2 separate regions of the Homo sapiens genome follow, and region 2 is linked to region 1. Evidence: promoter capture Hi-C in human tissues and cell types (Jung and others, 2019). All regions are on one chromosome and are shown on one strand. The core of a region is centred on a gene start or on the middle of the fragment in contact, and the rest is flanking DNA. Distances in the headings are between cores, read along the strand shown.

Evidence for each region. Contacts are between HindIII fragments. The study calls those that stand out against the background at their distance.
Region 2: a contact is called between a fragment that was not itself captured here and the fragment with the promoter of ITGB2 in region 1, in 5 of the 25 tissues and cell types used here (dorsolateral prefrontal cortex, lymphoblastoid cells, mesenchymal stem cells and 2 more).

What each region holds. Positions count from the first base shown.
Region 1 is chr21:44,918,619-44,922,151 of GRCh38, reverse strand. ITGB2 (integrin subunit beta 2) reads left to right here and starts at 1,253. Exons shown (of 16, transcript NM_000211.5): 1 at 1,253-1,331. ITGB2-AS1 (ITGB2 antisense RNA 1) reads right to left here and starts at 1,117. Exons shown (of 3, transcript NR_038316.1): 1 at 825-1,117. RefSeq lists a silencer at 2,603-2,662. The HindIII fragment of the contact is 46,650 bases long and covers 1-3,533 here.
Region 2 is chr21:44,850,406-44,853,990 of GRCh38, reverse strand. PTTG1IP (PTTG1 interacting protein) reads left to right here. Exons shown (of 6, transcript NM_004339.4): 6 at 2,364-3,585. The coding sequence ends at 2,410. Among named protein-coding and RNA genes, the nearest start is that of PTTG1IP, 21 kb to the left of the region's middle. The HindIII fragment of the contact is 3,314 bases long and covers 436-3,585 here.

The DNA.
Region 1 (3,533 bases), core at 4-2,503:
AAATCAACAGGTTATGACATCATAATTTTTACTTATTTCTTTGCCCAACTTTGTATCATCTGCTCTTGTATTTCTCATGGATTTCTTCATGTCTATTTCTGCAAGACATCTTTAAAACAGAGTTTAGGAGCCGGGAGCCATGGCTCACGCCAGTAATCCCAGCACTTTGGAAGGCAGAGGTGGATGGATCACTTGAAGCCAGGAGTTCAAGACCAGCCTGGTCAACATAGTGAAACCCTGTCTCTACTAAGAATACAAAAATTACCCAGGCGTGGTGGTACATGTGCCTGTAATCCCAGCTACTTGGGAGGCTGAGGCAGGAGAATTGCTTGAACCCGGGAGGCAGAGGTTGCAGTGAGCTGAGATCACGCCACTGCACTCCAGCCTGGGTGACAAAAGCAAAACTCTGTCTCAAAAAAAACTGAAAACATAAAAATAAATAAATAAATAAAACAGAGTTTAGGGTAGTAATGTGTCTGAGTCCTTGCTCTGAAGATGTCTGATTTGGGTTTTTTTTCTAGGTATAATCTCTTTCCCTCCTCTTCCTCCTCCTCCTCCTCTCCCTTCTCTCTCTCTCTGAGCCTGTAGTATTTTCCCTTTCGTGTTCTGTGGTATCCTCCTAATGTCCCTAGTTAACAGGACCTCATCCATCCATCCCTGGGGTGTTCAGTGGCCTCGCAATCCACGTCCCCGCCCAGATCCGCAGCCTTCCTCCTGTGACCTGAGTGTCTCCTCCTCGCTGTCCCTGTTCTGTCCCCTCCCGCCCTCACATGCAGGTGGATGTCAATGCGTGCACGCACCCAGGTTTTCTTGCCTGTTCCCACCTCTTTATCCTCCTTGGCTGGTTCCTCCGCTCCATTCTCTGGCTCAGGAATTTGCTCCCCAGGGTTTTTCATTCCGCTCTGTAGCAGAATGTGCTACTGTTGCTTTCCAGCATCAAACTTTTCACTCCCATGGCCTCTGTGTTCTTCTTCCTAATGGGTGCCCTTTCTGCCTGGCGCTCCTGGAGGCCGGGCCCCTCTCCCAAGTGTGAATCTGATGGAAGCAGGTCCTTCTCGCCGGGACCTCATGTGAGAAATGACATGTCCCACCTGTCTCAAGGGGCCGCTCTCTGACATCAGAGCTGCTGTAGAGCGGAGAGGGGCAGGGGTGAAGGGCCACGGTGGTGCAACCCACCACTTCCTCCAAGGAGGAGCTGAGAGGAACAGGAAGTGTCAGGACTTTACGACCCGCGCCTCCAGCTGAGGTTTCTAGACGTGACCCAGGGCAGACTGGTAGCAAAGCCCCCACGCCCAGCCAGGAGCACCGCCGAGGACTCCAGCACACCGAGGGTGAGTGTGCAGAGGCCCCGCTATGTCCACGGTGATTTTTGGAGGGAAGCACTCTCCTGCCCCAGCCTGGAGTGACCCTGGTGGCCCTGCTTATAGCCCCGGCCCAGGGGTGTCTGGCAGGAAGGGGTCTCCAGACCGTCTGCTCCAGGGTCCCCTTTGAGACCCGGCAAGGGGAAGTGCCTGCCACCAAGAGCAGAGCCACATGGTGTGCTGGGAGCGCTTGCGGCTGAGGATGGGGCCGGCATGGGAGGACAAGGGGCTGTGAGGCCGGCAAGGCCAGGAAGAGGCTGGGCCCACAAGCCCCTAGGGGGACGGCTGGGGGGTCCTGGTGCTCCGGGCTGGGCAGGAGGCAGGTTCCCGGGGCCTCCTCTGTGAACCTGCTGCGCCTGCCTGTGTTAGGCCCTCCTGTCTGCATGCTGCCCCGCCTGGCTACAGCGATTCCATCTCCAGATCGACTCGCAGTGTGTGGTGTGTGATATGGTGTGGTGTGGTTCGTGGTGTGTAGTGTCGTGTGTGTAGTGTGGCATGGTGTGCATGTATGGTGCACGTGTGTGGCATAGCGTAGTGTGGTGTGTGTGTGTGCATGTATGGTGTGCGAGTGTGCGCATGTGATGTGGGGAGTCTGTTGTATGTACATGTATGGTGCACATGTGTAATGTAGTGTGGTGTGGTGTGGCACATGCTCCATGCTCCTCTGGGACCCTCGAGCTTCCCTGCCTCCTCCGTGGGGACCCCTGGGTGACGTCTTGCTGTAGGGGAGCGGGCACCGCTGTGCGATTCTGGTCGAGTTGGTTCAGCTGGTGACCCTGGCCTCCCCACAACAGGCTCCTGGAGGCCATTCCCAAGGTCCTGGTGGGAGGGGGATTGAAGCCACGCCCCTGGGTCCCAGGCCCACCTGGCCCCCTTCCCCCAACACTGCACTCTTGGGGCCAGCCCTCCCCATGCATCCTCCACCCCTGGCACCACCCCTTGCACCACCGTCCCCACACCCAATCCCCCCTCCCCTGGATCTGGGAGCTGGGATTCTGCCCTGCTGTCCCTGTCCATCCGGGGCCCCTCTCCTCTGTCAGTTCCTGGGTGGGGAGAAGGAGGGGTGGCATGGCTGCAATGGGGAAGGGGGGGGATGGCCGGAGAGCTCAGCCTGGGAGCGAGCTGTGGGGGCATAGGGGACACTCGCTGTCACTCGCCTTCCCCGTGACGGTGGCGCAACGCCTGCGGGTTTGGGGGCTGAGGCCGGATTCTGGAGGCTTCACAGAAATGAGCTGCTAGAAGCTCTGGGCTGTCTGCCGTCACCCCAGCGTTTCACCATGAGTGAAGCCCAGCTCACTGCAGAATCCATGCCCAGCTCACTGCAGAATCCCCGGGGGCCAGCACTTTACCAAGAGTGGCCTCCAGACTCCACATTTTAGGAAGGAACTCCTTCCCCATCCAGCTCACAGCAGAATCCCCAGGGTCCCTGCCAGCCTGGCACCCAGCGTGCCCCTCAGTATTCTGGGGATGAGTGGGGGAGTCCCTCTGCTGGGAAGAGGTCCCTGGCTACGTCCCTGCAGGGCGGCGGCTGAGCCCATGCCTCGGCCCCAGGGCCAGTCCCCGCCGGGTGCCATCCTGAGCAGGGCCACAGAACAGATGTCCCACATGGCCAGGACCCCTGTGGCCACCTGACCCCGGGGGGGCTGTGGCCCTCGGTGAAGCAGGTGACCGGGCGGGCTGTGGGGTTTGTCAGCTCCGCAGCGTCACTGCCGCTCAGCGTATGAGTTTCCACTCCCAGCACTCAATGAACAGCTGAGCAACTGCAGGTGCCTCCGAGTGCTGGGAGAGGGGAATGCTCAGCTCCGAGTGCTGGGAGAGGGGACGCTCAGCTCCGAGTGCTGGGAGAGGGGACGCTTAGCCACCCAAGGGCCTTTGCCTCAAGGGAGTAAATAGGGGCATTTCCTGGTGGGCGTGGGCTGGGCTGGAGAAGCAGGGCCTCCTGGCAGGGGCTGGCATGAGATCCAAACACTGCCCAGGCAGCTGGACACTCCTGAGCCTGGAGCTTCTCACCTGAACCACAGGGTGGTAACCCCTGCCCCTCAGGCGGCATCGACGTGACCTGCCTAGTGCACAGTGAGCCTGAGGCAACACGGCCACCACCAGGAGACTCCCTGGGGAAGAGGCCCCCAGACAGCGAGGTGCCCATGAAGGAAGTTCTGCACAGGGGCCGCG
Region 2 (3,585 bases), core at 843-3,342, 69 kb after region 1:
TCAGTTCTGGCCTCCTTGGAAAGTCACCTCCATGTGACTGTGCTGTGACCTGAGGCCACGTGAGTCCTGCCGGTCTCGAAGTGTCGGCTTGGGGGCGTGAGGCTGCCTTGGCTGCTGGCCTCGAGATGCCCAGTGGCTGATAGAGGCTTTTTCCTATGTGTTCCCGCCCATCAGTCTCCTGAGTGCCGTGTGCTTGGGCGCTGACTCTCTGGGTTCTCTTCACTGCTGCCTTGTCCTTGCCCCACCCTCTCTGTCGCCTGTTGTTTCCCGGTGTGTGTCTGGAGTGGGTGGTGACCGGGTACCTGCGTGTGACTGTCATAAGGAGCAGCACCAGGGTTGCCCTCCTCAGCGAGTGCATGCCTGTGTACGTGGAGCGTGGGCCCAGCAGCATCTCTGCAGGCCTTGGCTGGAGGCATTGTGCTTTCCTTGAAATGGAAGAGTCAAGAGCTTTTTGGCACCTAATTTTTTTTTTTTTTTTTTTTTGAGACGGAGTCTCACCTTGTCGCCCAGGCTGGAGTGCAGTGGCGCGATGTCAGCTCACTGCAAGCTCTGCCTCCCAGGTTCACACCATTCTTCTGCCTCAGCCTCCTGAGTAGCTGGGACTACAGGTGCCCACCACTACGCCCAGCTAATTTTTTGTATTTTTTAGTAGAGATGGGGTTTCACTGTGTTAGCCAGGATGGTCTCAATCTCCTGACCTCGTGATCCGCCCGCCTCGGCCTCCCAGAGTGCTGGGATTATAGGCATGAGCCACCACACCCAGCCAGACTAATGTTAATGTAAATAAAAGACAAGGTGGATACACACACACGCACACGCGCACACACGCACACACTGCCCAGCACCTGTTATCACCAAGCACAAGCTGTGTTTAAGTTGCTCGACCTTTACTGTGCCCTGACTCCCAGCGGGTGTGAGGCTGTGGGTGGCCGGCCAGGCTCTTGGAGTGGTGTCTTCTGTGTCAGGGCCCTGATTGACTTGCACTTGCCATTTTGGTGGTTAATTTGGCCCTTTAATTGCATTGATGAAATGAGCTTTTTGTGCCAGTTTGTAATAAAGCCATTGAATGGCCTGTGCTTTGGAAAGCCTCGGCTAGTTAGAAGAATTCCTAGGAATTCCTGATGGGAGAGTGCGAGAAAGCATGTGAGTCCACCTGGTGCAGTTATATAAAATACCAGCACGCACGCAAAAACCCTTCTTTTGGTTTTGGTTTTCCCTCTAAACTGGAAGTAGACTCAGGAGCGAGTTTTTCAATAAGAACTTAACCAGCCTCCTTGCTAGTATCTGATGACTCTTTCCCAAAACCGACTTTGAGCCTCACTCCCAAAGCCTGATGCCTGTGGCCCTCCTTGACAGGCAAGAAAGAAACATGGCTAGGCCCTTCCTTACCATCCCTCTGCTTCCCCGCCGCCTCTTCCACCCAGCCCCCAGAATACATGCAGTGAGTAGCTTTGTTGTAATCGCTGCAGATAATTTTAGTGTACAATACAGATTGTTAAAGGGAGAGAGAGGCCAGGCACGGTGGCTCACGCCTGTAATCCCAACACTTTGGGAGACCAAGGTGGTGGATCACCTGAGGTTGGGAGTTCGAGACCAGCCTGACCAACATGGTGAAACCCCGTCTCTACTAAAAATACAAAAATTAGCCAAGTATGGTGGTGGGTGCCTGCAGTCCTAGCTACCCGGAGGCTGAGGCAGGAGAATTCCTTGAACCCAGGAGGCGGAGATTGCAGTGAGCCGAGACTGCGCCATTGCACTCTATCCTGGGCAACAAGAGCAAAACTCTGTCTCAAAAAAAAATAAAAAATAAAGGGAGAGAGAGTGTGTGTATGTGTGTGTGTTTCTGCAGTGTGAAGGGAAAACTCCTGGTCTTTGGGTAAGTAGCACAGGTTTACTCTTATGATTAAATACACATTTTATCCCAGTTTTGTCAGAGTACTCGAGAGTTAGATTGATGGTCATCTTAGTTCTTTCTGTAGCCTTAATTCCAAAGGTTTAAGAGCAGCTATAAGCACAAAGTAAGGTTATTTTGTTTAATAGTAGCCATCCACTGTGGAACTAGCCAACCACTGTGGAAAGAAATACTTGCCTTAAATTTCTTTTCTTCGCCGAGCATCAGGAAGTAAGTGCTTATCTCTTAGGATCTGTTAGAGTTCTTGTTTCTAGTAAATTTTATTTCAGTTTTAAAGTTTAAAGTGGTTTGACTTCAAAAAAGGTTAAGCACTGTATGAGAGCCTGCTTACAATGCCCGTTGTTGCTATAGCCTCAGTAAATCTTCTTATAAAGCTTGGTTTGTATGGCTTTCTAAGATTTTGTTTCTGGTTGAATGAATGAAGTTATGATTCAAGTTTATTTTGTTTCAGGCCTGTTTAAAGAAGAAAACCCGTATGCTAGATTTGAAAACAACTAAAGCGCTCCAGCACATCAGTCCCGACGCTTCCTGTGAGGTGCACGCTCCGCAGCCCAGCCCAGCCGGGAGACCACGTGGCCATTGCGGTCTCCTGACCTTGGCCAGTGAACCTGCCAGCCTTCCAGGACAGGCGGCCGGAGAGCTGCCCCTGAAGGACAGTCCTCTCGTCTTGCAGACTGGTGACCTTCTATTCCCTGTTCATCTCTGTTTCTAGATTTAGTCACTTGAAATAAGAAATCTTTGGGGTTTGGGCTTTTTTATACTCTTCTCAGTTTGTGAAACGCTAACTGCACACGAAGCCGCCTGACGGCACCCAGCGCTGTGGCTGTCATTCTCCCAGGGCAGAACCCTGCGTTTCTCTCTGTCCACTAACAAGCTTCACACGCAACACAGGGAAGTCGGTTTGACTTTTGTCATGAGGAGAACTGACCAGCCCTCATCATTCCCCATAAAACCACGGACAGCGTCTGTGTGCGCATCTTGAGTCTTCACACCTGTTGACTCACACGGCTTTTGCTGATGACACGGGGCTCCAGTACACAGTCTGATAAGGACTTAACGTCCTAACCTCAATTGTATTAAATAGCATTGGGGAATAGCTAAACCTTTTTAAAAAAATTTATTGGATTTTCCTCCCTGCTTAAAAGATTTCACCAGAAAACCTTCATATAAAAATTCAGGCCCTTTTTGGACAATTTTTAAAATTTGTATCTTTACTAGAACATGAGAATCTTTTTCCCTTGGAAGCTTGAATTATAAATGTGGTGTTTGGCCTGCCTCAGCAGCACCAGTTGACTGCTCGTGTGCCAGCGGTGTGGGGAGGACGGGGCAGGACGCTGCAGCTCTCTCCAGCCCTGTTGGCATCCTCAGTGCCTGCAGGCCTCTCGCTGCCTGTTGGGCTGTCTGGGGGGTGGCCATTTAGGGATCGTGGGGACGGGGTCCACCCCAAGAAGAAAGAAAGGCCCGTCCACAGGCCCGGCTCTGGGCCACGTGCCCCGGAAGCAGGTGTGTCCAGAGTCAGCTGAGGGCTCTCCCCACACCACCCAGCAGGCGCTGGTGCTCCTTCTGCCTCATGGGACCAGTCCAGCTTCCAGCCGCTCTGGCTCGAGGGTGGTCTGACCACTTCCTTCTGAGTGGGCTTCTCTGGGAGCTCTCCAGTGGCACTGCTGGACCTG